2 separate regions of the Homo sapiens genome follow, and region 2 is linked to region 1. The links are contacts of gene promoters, found by promoter capture Hi-C in blood cells and fetal thymus (Javierre and others, 2016). All regions are on one chromosome and are shown on one strand. Each heading gives the region's core, a stretch centred on a gene start or on the middle of the fragment in contact. The rest is flanking DNA. Distances are from core to core; before and after follow the strand shown. Region 1 holds the start of AHR (aryl hydrocarbon receptor). Region 2 overlaps POLR1F (RNA polymerase I subunit F).

Evidence for each region. The method cuts DNA at HindIII sites, captures the fragments that hold promoters and counts their contacts. A CHiCAGO score of 5 or more calls a contact.
Region 2: a contact is called between a fragment that was not itself captured here and the fragment with the promoter of AHR in region 1, in 1 of 17 cell types (total CD4 T cells). The highest score is 5.3, in total CD4 T cells.

The regions. Positions count from the first base shown.
Region 1 is chr7:17,294,748-17,301,396 of GRCh38, forward strand. It overlaps AHR (aryl hydrocarbon receptor), which reads left to right and starts at 3,905. Exons shown (of 11, transcript NM_001621.5): 1 at 3,905-4,582. The coding sequence starts at 4,518. It overlaps LOC101927609 (a long non-coding RNA gene), which reads right to left and starts at 4,573. Exons shown (of 12, transcript XR_007060234.1): 1 at 4,313-4,573; 2 at 419-513. RefSeq lists silencers at 4,180-4,329, 4,380-4,489, 4,530-4,579. The HindIII fragment of the contact is 6,297 bases long and covers 1-5,254 here.
Region 2 is chr7:19,698,752-19,705,299 of GRCh38, forward strand. It overlaps POLR1F (RNA polymerase I subunit F), which reads right to left. Exons shown (of 4, transcript NM_001002926.2): 2 at 6,028-6,169; 3 at 1,321-1,529. Among named protein-coding and RNA genes, the nearest start is that of MIR3146, 3.4 kb to the right of the region's middle. The HindIII fragment of the contact is 1,578 bases long and covers 2,134-3,711 here.

The DNA of each region.
Region 1 (6,649 bases), core at 2,655-5,154:
TAATAATGTACTTTCATGTGTTAAAAACCTAAATGTTTCTTGCAACAAAGCATTATCCATAAGTGAATAAAAATAATTTTGACTAATAACAAATTATTCCTATCTTGTAGTTTCTTTGTCAGAATTAAGATTAGCATTATCTATTAATTACTTCTCTGTGGCTTCTATGACATTGTTGTATCCAAGCAAGTAAAGAAGACATTAAGCATTTAGAAACAGCCCTTAGATGTCTATGTCTGTTCTTCAGTGTTAGGAGTAAAAGCAAGCAATGTGTAAACTGATTATTTTTAATAAATGAATCAGAACAGTTCAAAGTCAGATAAGTTATACATTTTAGACTGGGGCAGAAGTCACAAGACCCAGATTCTAGGCTATGATTAGCAGGGCACTTGATCTCTCTGGGCCTGAAGTTTCTCACCTGTTAAATGAAGGATTTAGTTATGCCAAAGGTCCCAAACTTTCTCAGTTCACAGCATTCCTAGTGTCTCAGTAATTTTTTCATGGTGTTGCAAGCTAAAAGAAACACCTAACAGTTCCATTTATTAAACAGTTAAACCCAAACTTATGTTTGTCTATCCTAACAACTTAGTAGCTATTTAAAAAATAATATACATTAACATTTTTTATTCTTAATGGGATGTGCACATCTGTTGGGCACTTCATAACTTCTCAAACTTAGGAATAAACTTGGAAACCGCTACCCTCATTCCTGTTCTACAGTAATTTTCCCATAGTCCTTGTGTTTTATTACAGCAATTTACAAAAACACAGCCTCACAAAGATACGATGTCAAAAGGAATGAAGTACAATTTAATGTGTAGAAGTTCTGAACTACCTCAAGATAGTGGTTTGCACGGTGTCCAACTGATGTCACTGTGTTGGCCTTGAAAATTTAAAATATCCCATGATAGTGCCCCTGTGAGTTTGTTGTGGTGCTCCTGGGGTGCCTCAGTACATAGTTTAGGAAGCATGGACTACCCTCTGTAAAATACTTCATATAGCTACAATGTGTGTTGTAAACTGTAAAAGACAATTCTGAGGGCCTGAAGTAAGGAGCTGCAGAATTGAAGAGGAGATTAAAAAGTGATACATGTTCAGTCTGCATGAAATTCCCCTTCCTCCCCAGGTCACCTATAAAATGCCTACCTATGCCTACCTATAAAATGCCTACCTATGCCTCAAAACTCAGCTCAAGCTCCCTCAGGGAGGTTACCAAGTTACCCTTACCAAGTTAAATCCACCTATTATACATTCTCACAGTATTCATTTCACAGTACTTGTCCCAGTTGTAATTATACATTCATTTGTGTAACTATCTGGTTAATTCTTGTCTCTCTCATTAGAATGTAAGCTCTAAGAGGAAAGAACATGTCTGATATCACTACTGTAACCCACAGTGTCTGGTATATTATAGGGGCTAAAATCTTGCTTAGTGAAATGAACTGTGATAGAATAGGTTTAGCATTCATTTTGATTATTTTCCTTTATTCAAGAACAGCTGATATTTATAATAGCATTCCTAAAACATTTTTCTCATACTATTTCGCAGGAGAAAGAAACCCATACACATACAGCTGCATCTGAAACCTCAGAAACTAAGCTCAACCCAATTGATTAAAAGGATGTTCTTTGGATAAGGTAATCAAATGTTCACCGACTCTTATAGCCAAATTAATTATTATGAGATAAAAATCACGTAACTACAAAAAAAAAAACTGCTCACAAAAAAGTTTTTAAATCTTAGCAGATGGACACAAACCATACTTTGAGAACCATGTTCCACAGTGCCAATACAGGAAGTTTCTAGATAATGGCAGCTCATTTTTTAAAAATGGCACTACACTATACTGTATTCACATGCCAGCAAAACTGTTAAGGTAAGTTCATGTCACTATTAAAATAAAATGAATTCTGGGAATTTTGTTGATATTCAATTTTAATCTTAATTATGCAAAGATCTGTTACTTAACTAAGACTATGTAACATAATATAGCATATGACTTCTGGATAATGAAAATAATCCTAAACTTAACCATAAAAAAATAAGGGTATGAAAGTCAAAATAAGGTAGAAAATGACTGCACCAAATAGCCAACAACCTTAAAAAGGGTAGGATTTTTTTAAATCACTAAATTAAGATTGGTTCATTGCATTTAGTACATCTCTTTTATGAAGAGGAGTTATAAGCTACAGAATCAATAAATTATGTTTTGATATAAATTTTTCACCCTTAAAGTTCCTAGCTAGGAGGAAATTATTCTTTTACACTTACACGTTTTAGATAGAATGGCTATAAGTAAGCACAGATAAATGAAGAAATGAAAGAGAAGGGAAAAATAGAGATGGTTGATTCTGCCTCTGCAATTGCTAATTCATAAACATCAAACTTTCCCAGTGTACACTGTCTTCTTTGGGAATTTGCTCCATCTTTTTCCTTAAACTGAAAGGTGGCTTACTGAGGCTATCACTTTCCTAAAGGTCTCCCCAATACTGCCTAATTATTTTCTCTTATCACAGGATACAGGGTGGATGTCCATCTACTTCCTTGTTGTCACTTCCCAGATCACTTTCACTTTATGCTCTTCTAAAATTAAAACAAAGATCATCGACCACAAAACACAATTGTTCTTTTGTAGCTCATGCTAGAATACCCTCTTTGTTACATCTCCTTCATTTTTCTGATCCAAAATTTAGTAGCCTACTATATCTCACCCACTGTCCTTCTTTCCTCCAGCTATGGTAGAGAACTGCTCCTCCAACTTTATGTACATTTGAATCACCTGGGAGTTCCTGTGAACTTCGGGTTCTGATTTAATAAGGACACCCAAAGAGTCTGCATTTCCTGTAACTCTCAAAAGAAGCTGTGGAGTACTCTGAATAGCAAAGCACTGTAAGTGCTGTTTCTGTTAGTATCTAATCTATTAGTCCTAATCTCCCATTTATGCTTTGGCACTCATTCCCTCCTGCTTTCGGTATCTTAATATCTATCATTCCTTCACTCTTCCCTCAGGTTCCCTACATAGTTTATCTCTACCCCCTCTAAGCCGCTCAGTATCGCCCATTAAAGAACTAAACCAAAACTAGAAAACCCTCATTTAACCCTTCACTCCCCCTACATACAATCTGATGTGTCTCTCATCCACAGCTAAACTTGGAAGAAAAATTGCCTGCTTGAGGATGCCATTTTGTTATCTTCAGCTCAATCCTGTACCCACTTCAATGTTATTTGCAGGCCCATTACCCCAACACTGCATTCACGAAAGTCATCAGTGACTACACATTGAGAAAACAAGAATGACATTTTCAGTTCTCAACTAATTTGAATTTCTCAACAGTATTCAATATTGTTAATTACTCCCAATATTTTTCCACATGGTCCTCCATGACACAATACATAATAGTCCCCTTATTATCTATATTCCTGTCTATTGTAAAGACTTCCCCCGCACACCAAAAAAGGTCAAGGAAACTCCTAGCCTTCAAGTCTCAACTCAAATCTGGCCTTCTGAAGCCTTCCCAACTAGGAAAATATACAGTCCCATTGGTTGTCTACCAGTTGTCTACCAGTTAATTGTAATTCTTAGCCACAAGTTAGCTGACCCACCGTCTCTCAAACAGGTGAAGTTAAGCTCAATATTTGGCATATCTTGATATACTTTGTACAGTCTAGCTACAATAAGTTTGCCTATGCACGAAGATGGCTACCGGCGGGGGGGGGCGTCCTTACGTCCTACGTCATCACGTGCCGGGATGAGGGTGGGGCCCTCAAGGAAGACGGAATGGAATCCAGATGGGCGGGGGCAAGCAGGACGGGGCGGGGCTACGCGGGATCTGGGCGGGGCGGGGCCGGTGAGGGGTCGGGGGTGCTCCTGCTATTCAGCCGGTGCGCGCGGCGGCGGGAGGCAGTGGCTGGGGAGTCCCGTCGACGCTCTGTTCCGAGAGCGTGCCCCGGACCGCCAGCTCAGAACAGGGGCAGCCGTGTAGCCGAACGGAAGCTGGGAGCAGCCGGGACTGGTGGCCCGCGCCCGAGCTCCGCAGGCGGGAAGCACCCTGGATTTAGGAAGTCCCGGGAGCAGCGCGGCGGCACCTCCCTCACCCAAGGGGCCGCGGCGACGGTCACGGGGCGCGGCGCCACCGTGAGCGACCCAGGCCAGGATTCTAAATAGACGGCCCAGGCTCCTCCTCCGCCCGGGCCGCCTCACCTGCGGGCATTGCCGCGCCGCCTCCGCCGGTGTAGACGGCACCTGCGCCGCCTTGCTCGCGGGTCTCCGCCCCTCGCCCACCCTCACTGCGCCAGGCCCAGGCAGCTCACCTGTACTGGCGCGGGCTGCGGAAGCCTGCGTGAGCCGAGGCGTTGAGGCGCGGCGCCCACGCCACTGTCCCGAGAGGACGCAGGTGGAGCGGGCGCGGCTTCGCGGAACCCGGCGCCGGCCGCCGCAGTGGTCCCAGCCTACACCGGGTTCCGGGGACCCGGCCGCCAGTGCCCGGGGAGTAGCCGCCGCCGTCGGCTGGGCACCATGAACAGCAGCAGCGCCAACATCACCTACGCCAGTCGCAAGCGGCGGAAGCCGGTGCAGAAAACGTGAGTGTCCCGAGCGCGTCCTCATCGCGGGGGCTGGGCGCTCAGGCACGCGGGTGCGGGAGGCAGCCCCACCCCGCCCCCAAATCCCTGCGATCCTGGGATTAGGTCCATTCCCGGCACTGCCCGTGGAATCGAGGTTTGGAGGCCGGCTGGGAGACAGAGGACTTGGATTCTCCCGTTTTCAATGATTGCATTTTAAAAATTGTCCTCCCACCCATCCTCTTCCCCCGCACCAGTGCATACACACCCTCTCACATTTGCAACTTTGTTCTTTCTGATTTGGTCCTGATTTGTTGACAGCTCTGATCTGCCTTGGGCTAATGGATTAGTTAGTATAAACCTGTCTTGAAATCTCCTTCCACTTTTCATATCCGCATGGGTTAGGTTAGAGGACGGTCTTAATTCTCATTCTTCGTAGAGTTTGGTAAGGCGAGATGTTTTAAAGAGCTAAACACATGCTGACTTTTACGAAGGGGCTGAGTGCCTCTAAAGGTACTTTTTGGTCCCCACCAACTGGCTTTGTGTTGCGCTCATATTTACTTATTTGGCAGCAATTTTGTAGCGCTCATCGTGACCATATCGGTAAAGTGGATAGAAGTGGTAGCAGGTGGGAGTGGATGCAACGGACAGGATACGGTGGAGGATTTGTATTCTTCAGACATCTTTTTCGGAAGCTTGCTTATCACTTTTGGGGTGGCTTTAGGGTCTGTAAAATAAAAGATTTAGAACTGCATTTGAGAGAGGTTTTCATTCTTAACATCTACCTCTAATTCTTTTCCCCTTCAAAGTTTTCTTCTAGTTGAGTGAGTACAAACTTGCTTTTGTCGTTGTCGGTTGATTTTGGTGGAATATTTGTGTGAGATGGCCAATTTTTTGTGTGTGTCAGAAAAAACTATCCGTGCTCAAAACATTTCCTGTTGTGAGGTGGTTGTATTCATGTGTTTATTCCAATTTTTTTATTTCTAGATCTCTGAGTTACTTTACCTACATGTGTTTCAAGTTTTCGTAAACAATTTTAAGAACTCTTAAACGTCTTCTCAGACCAAATCAGAAGTGTGCATTTTGCTTAGACTCCAACTATCACTAATGGGAACCAGAAAAATAACACTTTAAGATTTACATTTAAAACCAGTTATTGGTTTAAAGTTTCATTCTAAAATTTTAGTTTCCTTTCAGAATTTCAGTTATCATAGTTCTTCAGAAGTATACTTATGAATTGGCATTAACAGAGGATAATAATCTATAAATAGACTGATGAAAATTTGGAAGTTTTATGGTACAGTGTGTCTTAAGGGAATATTGTCAAACCAGCAGTTTTCTACCTTGGCAGTTTGAGACATCGGTTATTAATACTTTTAATTTTGTAGAATGGTTTCTTATATTAAAGTATGTTTGTCTTATTTGACATTGTCATTGATGGTTAAAGTTGGGAGGCATCCCAAATGTCTGTTCTATGTGTTTATTAATATAATAATACACTTAGCATCATATATAATAGGGGTGTCATGGGTTTTATGTGTATGGTGAGAAAACATGAAGATCTCCCTGATGTGTTTTTAAGATACTGGGTTTCAGTTAGGGTGTTATCAAAGGACCTGGATGGCTTTGTAAACAAAAACAAATGCCATAATTTTGTATTCATTACACAGTTTAACATTTATGGATTTTGGTTATTTTGCGTAAAATGTACTTTTTATTAGATTATCCTAATATTATACTTACTTAGTTTTTAATATACTTGTATTAATTTCTTATAATATAACAAAAGTATTTTTTCCATTCACCCACATTTTGTTAGCATAGATGTTTATCAGATCTCTGCTGAGCACCGTATATTGCTTCTAATCATACAGATGCCTTAAATATTACCAGCTTGCTCTGTAAGAATAGGCTAGTGCTGGCATTTTCATTATCAAGTGAAAGTGTTTATATAAATTATTTTTACCTGAATGAAAAATTGTTAACTTTATAATGCAGTTAATCAAAGTTTATTTTAGAAATGAAGTCATTAAACCTAGTATTAAATTTGAGTTTTAAAATTAAACTACCAGTTTGTGGCCTAATGAG
Region 2 (6,548 bases), core at 1,673-4,172, 2.4 Mb after region 1:
TAACAGAACAATAAGCAAAAAACAAAGAACAAATTGAGATCAAGATATCCCAACAGGCTAAGATTTTCTAAATAATGACTCCAGTACAAGACACATAACCATGGCATAAATTCCAAATATTCTATCCTGTTATCCCTCAACCCACTAAAATATGTATGGGCTGCTGAATGTTAAATTGAAAAATGTTAAATTTAACATTAAATGTTAAATTCTTTCTTTATGAATAACTTCTCCCAGACTGTTTCCACACATAAAAATGACATAAAAATCTTGTCAAAACATGTCTTCCAAGTTTTGGGTTGTTTCAGAAAAATTTGGTCACTGAACATTAAACACCACAATACCTAGGCTTATTAACCAAACCACTGACATCTAATAGAAAATATGATCTGGTATTTATCAAAGCAATGGAGTTTCCAGTCTACTATTTTAATCTTGTTTCAAATAATAGTCCATTGTTCTACTTAGCTGATACTAAGATAGTATTACTTTAACATTGTGAATTATTTTACACCACTAAAATAAAACATGGATCGATGAAGTAGCTTTCTCTCCAGAACTTCAGTCTTATACAGTAGCACTAGGCACATGTACCTAATCACTACCAAAAACATAACTTTAGAAATTCAGTTCCTCAGTCAGACTTAGTCATATTTCAATGCTCAATAGTGAGGCTGCTGTACTATGTATATAAACTGTATTTCTGTCATTACAGAAATTGAACAGCTGTTCCAGAACTTCAACCCATACTCTTGTAACTTTAAGGCAAAATACAGAAAAAATTATTAGCAATAGCAGCATTTTAAGAGTTGTCTCTCTCCTTCTTCCTTTAAACTTGGCTCCCATGGAATCAAGCTCAAGATCAGAGTTAATTCTTATAATAATTTCTATACAGAATAATACAGAAATTAAAATATCTGGCACAGAAGACAATAATCAACACAATTTTTTGTGTGTAAAAACAAAGCAGGCCAATAGTTAGGAAGGTAATTGTGCTTTCAGTAGTTTCAAGTTTAGAGGTCAACTTTAAAAAAAAAGTTAACAACAAAATAGAAAATACTCAGCAAAATTGAACTATTAAATATTAAAATACAGACCAGTTAGCTAGTCTGTGTTTCAGAATATTTATTTGATGCACTGTTACAGATTACTTAAGAGTATTGTTTATATTGACTTTATGGTTTGAAAGCATGAATATTCCTATAAACAGGTATTTTTAGAGAGGCTTATTCTCTTTAAAATTAAAATAAAATTCTCTTTAAAATTCAGAATTAAATAGAAATTAAGTACCTAGTGATAATTACGTAATGATAAACTAACCTTGTGATATTTAGTTTTCCCCGAATGCAGAATACTCCAGCAGCATCTGAGTCTAAACGAAATACTTCAAATTCTAGTTCATCACCCATGTTTATCTCCATGGTTTGCCACTGCTCAGCTGACAACTGCTCAGGTTTAGGAATGGAGGCATTGAAACACCCATGTACTAAACAGCCAATGTGGCTAGAAGACACTTTATTAACTATACCCTGGGAAGAAGAAGGAAGAAAGAGCGTAACATAAAGAACACATCCACAAAGTTAAAAGGTGAACCAAACTTTACAAGCTTCAAATAATCTTCAAAGAACAAACATCAAATTAATGGTCTAATTTAATATGGAAAAAGTTTACCTCAATTAAAACTTACCACATGTCATGCCAAAACATCACTTTAGAATACCACTGGGTTTTGAGAAAGCTCAAACTTTATTATATAAGTAATTGCACATTAACTGTCTAACTGGGCACATTAACTTTCTAACTGGATAAACTAACCTGCCCCCGCCACCCTGTCCAAGAAAAAAAACCATCTCAACTCCCCACTGCAGGATTCCTTAGGGAGGACAGTATTACTCTTTAGCTACATTGAAACCAAGCAAACCCCATATAACTTCTAAAAAGACCTCATATGCGTTTTATAACTGGGATCCATGTTACGTTTCTGTAAATAGACCAAATTTCAAAGCTTAAAAATGCATTCTTTAATTATTTAATTTAGCATGATGCAAGCATTCCATTAGAAGACAGCTTACCCTTTAAATGTAAATATTGACCATGACTATTTTTTGGCTAAATCACGAAAGTATTATTAGAAGCTTTAAAACTAAAACAAAAGTATGTGCTATATGATTTTAAGATGAGACTTTGCATAAAACTTATTTTTCTTCTCAGGGTCAATATATACAAAGCATATAAATGAGACTCAGAAATATTAAAAATTCACATTTTCTGAATTATGAAACTGCAAATAATGCCGATGTGTATACAATGCTGTTTAACATCAGCAACCCTTTACACATGTGACAGAATAAAACTTCCCTATCTGGTATGATCAGAAGTCTAGTGTTCCCACTGGTAGTTTCCAGATGGTCTAGATAAACAAACTGGTACAGCTATAAAATAAAAGATTATTCAGTAATAAAGATAAATAAGTTCTCACCATAAAAAGACATAGCGAAACCTTAAATGCATATTGCTAAGTGAAAGAAGTCAATTTGAAAAGGATACATACTCTATTCTTCTTCTTTAAAAAGGCAAAACTACGGAAACAGTAAAAAGATCAGTGGTTGCCAGGGATTACAGGGAACGGAGGGAAGAAGGGAGAAATGAATAGGTGGAGCACAAGCGGTTTTTAGGAGAGGATAACTATTCCGTATCATACTATAATGGAAGATAAGTTGTTGGGATTCACTCAGGATAGTGGCAGAAATATTAAAGGGAAATATTAGGGAAAGTTATAGGGAATAGTCACAAACCTTTTTGGAAGGCCAAAAGGTTACATAGCTTGTAATAGCTGAACAGGCCGAAGACAGCCGGTTCTTACCTTAGAGCATTAAGTTACAGAGTAAATACTAGGGACAATAGAGGCTTCCCCAGTTAAGTCTGTTTACCCTACCTCTGTTAACTAACCTTTAAGTCAGATGGCCTCTGGGGGGGCAGGGATATTGCCCCCAGTGATATTTACTTTAAACCTCGGTACCTGAGCTTTAATCATTCATAGAACTACTCACTTAACCATGTTAATTATCCAAAAGTGTGTGGACTCAGAGCTTCTGTTGTTAATTGTATACGAAATAAATGCCTGGAGTGTGAACTACTCAGGGCCAGCGGCAGTGACAAACCTCTCTCGGTGTGTAGGCAGTCGGACACTCAGCAGTACTGGCAAAGCAATATCTGTGTGTCAGTGTACGTTTCATTCATCCATCTTTTAGGTCAAGGTCTGCAGGCAGACCCCCGCAGCTAATGCCCTCTTGTGAGGAGCAATACCTCAATAAATGCCATGACACATTTGTGGAAACTCATAGAATGTACAACACAAAGACTGAACTCTAATGTAAACTACAGACTTTACTTGATAATAATGTATCAATATTGGCACAAAAATGGTAACAAATGCACCATACTAATGCAAGTTAATGTTGATAATAGGGGAAAGGGGGTGGTTATATGGGAACTCTATACTCTCCATTCAATTTTTCTGTAAACCTAAAACTGCTGTTAAAAATATGTCAATTTCAGAAAATCAATGAAAGAAAAGGTTTTTTAATATATGAATCCAGAACAACGGGAAAGCTACATGAAGGAGAGAGTGGATCTCAAGGCCTACCTCACACTACACACAAAAATTATTTGAGAATGATCACAGACTTAAATGGAAAAGCTAAAACTAAAAGCTTGTAGAAGTCGACAGAACAGTATCTGCACAACTTTTCGGCAGACAAATTTCTTTGATAGGGTCCAGAAAGCAATAGTCATAAACATATAAAATGATAAATTGGACCTCATCAAAATTAAAAGTAACTGTTCATCAAATAATACCATTACAAGTTAACAGACAAGTCACAGATTGGAAGAAAATATTCAAAATACTTATCTGAAAAGAATTCATTTTAAGACTAAAAAGAACTGCTATAAGTCAATAATAAAAATACAAAAACCCAATTAAAAATGGGCAAAATACTTGAACAGGCCCTTCTTACTGAAATATATGAAAAATTGCTTATGAGGGAAACGGAAATGCAAATTAAAACCATAATGAGATACTACTATATGCCCATCAGTACAATTAAAGGACAATAGCAAATGTTAATAACGATACAGAGTAAATGAAGTGTTGAATGGGAAATCAGTCTGACAATGGTTTTATATAAATACCCTGTGAACTAGCTCTTCTGCTTCTAGTTATTTACTTAAGAGAAATGAAAATGTATGTTTTCATTCATATGTCTGAAAATATATGTTTTCAATAGCTTTATTCATAAAAGCCCCAGCCTGGAATCAATCCATCAATGAAGACAGATAATTATATTGTGATATAGTCATATAACTGAATACCATGAGCAATAAAAAGGAACAAACTACCAATACACACAACAGCATGGATGAAACTCAAAAACATGCTGATCAAAAGGCGGCAGATTTTAAGAATGTATAATGAATAATTCCATTAATATGGAACTATAGAATAAGCAAAACCAACTTATGATAAAATCAGAAGAGTAATTATATCTGCAATAAAGAGAAGGAATTGGGCCAGGAAAGGGCATGAAGATCCTTTCTAAGGAGATGGAATGGTATACAGACCTGACGAAATTCACTGAACTGAACAATATGATCTGTGCATTTTATTATATGTAAATTTTATCTCACCAAATATTAATAATAATAATTGAAGGAAAAGTGGGTGGTCAAAAATATTTGAGGAGTGGATCTTGTAGTAGGTAGATTAAAAGGGATATTTTTCATTTCATACTTTTTCTACAATCTGTTATTTCCATGTACATGTATATATGTTATTTCCGTGTATGTGTGTGTGTATTTTTACAGACAGGGTCTCACTGTTGCCTAGGCTGGAATGCATTGGCGCAATCATAGCTCACTGCAGCCTTGAACCCCTGGGCTCAGGTGATCCTCCTACCCCAGCCTCCTGAGTAACTGGGACTACAGATGCATGCCACCATGACTGGCTAATTTTTTATTTTGTGTAGAGATGAGGTCTCACTATGTTGCCCACGTTGGTCTTAAACTCCTGGCCTCAAGTGATCCTCCTGCCTCAGCTTCCCAAAATGCTGTGATTGTAGGTGTGAGCCACTGTGGCTGGCCTACATGTTTATATTTAAAATAATAATTTACACAAAGTAGATGAAAGTTAAGTTTGTTAATTTCCAAATACAAATCTACTGCCAACTTTAGTAGTCCAGTTATAAGATCCCAGTTTAACAGGCAAAGGATACTACTTGTATTAATTTGATATTGAAAAATGAAAAAAATTGGAAGTGTCTTGTGGGTTTTGTCATGGTTAAATTGATCTATATTTTTATGAACAATATCAAGGGTTAACAGTTCTGATCTATTAAAATATTTATCAGCTAAGGAAAAGAACATATACACACACATACAAGTATACATACGAACATGTGTATACACACAGAGAACTGCTGGAGGAAGAGAGGAGAAAGTAAAGAGTAAAAAAGGATCTATTTCAGCAGATTTTGTATCAATATCTGCATTTCCAGCTTATGAAAAACTGGAAGACCTTTCCCACAGAGCTTCCATTTCCAAGGCACAGACTGGCTGCCCTGTCCTCTGTCATTGATAAATTTTCATTACTGCCTGGCCCATTTGAATTCCTGTTTCATATACTGCTATATTCTTTGAATCCTTTATAAAGAAATAGTATTTGTGTAGAATTGAGAACTTTTGAAATAATAATGATAATTGATTTTTTTGCCCTTAAAATCATTCTGCTACTATGAAAAGAATAAAGTGGATGGGACATATATCGTGTGCATGTATGTGTTTTAGGAGGATATTCAAAAACTTACCTACGTTTGAATGATACAAATTAATTTTTCCTTAAAAATAATATTTATTTACTCACAATAGCAATTTATTTGAGTCCCAAGGTATATATTATCTCTTAAAATGTTCCAAGTTACATAATTATAGAATTATACAAAGGGAGCTAGAAAAAAGTGATACACATACCATAAGCTTCTGCCCTGGTTCAGGGCAGAAAATAACAAAATCGGCTTCAATGTTAAGATGAATGTGTCCTTGATCATCATAAATATCTCCAAGCTCTCCCACAACTTTGATGTTATCATATGCAATAGGGACACCTAAAAGGCTGTAAAAAGAAAAAGTTGAAAATGATACCTTTTATCGTCTTTTATTTATTTATGTTTTTGGAGACAGGGTCTTGCTCTGTCACCCAGGATAGGGTGCAGTGACATCAACAGGGCTCACTGCAGCCTCGACCTCCTGGGCTCAATTGATCCTTCTGCCTCAGCCTCCCAAAGTGCTGAGATTATAGGTGTGCACCACTGCACTCTTTCAAACCAGGCCATTTTCATACTGATTAGATATTCTATCCAAAACTTACACATCTCCTAAATACACCACCTATGTCAAAAACAATAGTATATGATTAGTCTGTAACAACTTTAGTAGTCCCATTTCACCAATGGATTCTGATGTGTTGGCTAAGTTAAAATGATGACTCAAGA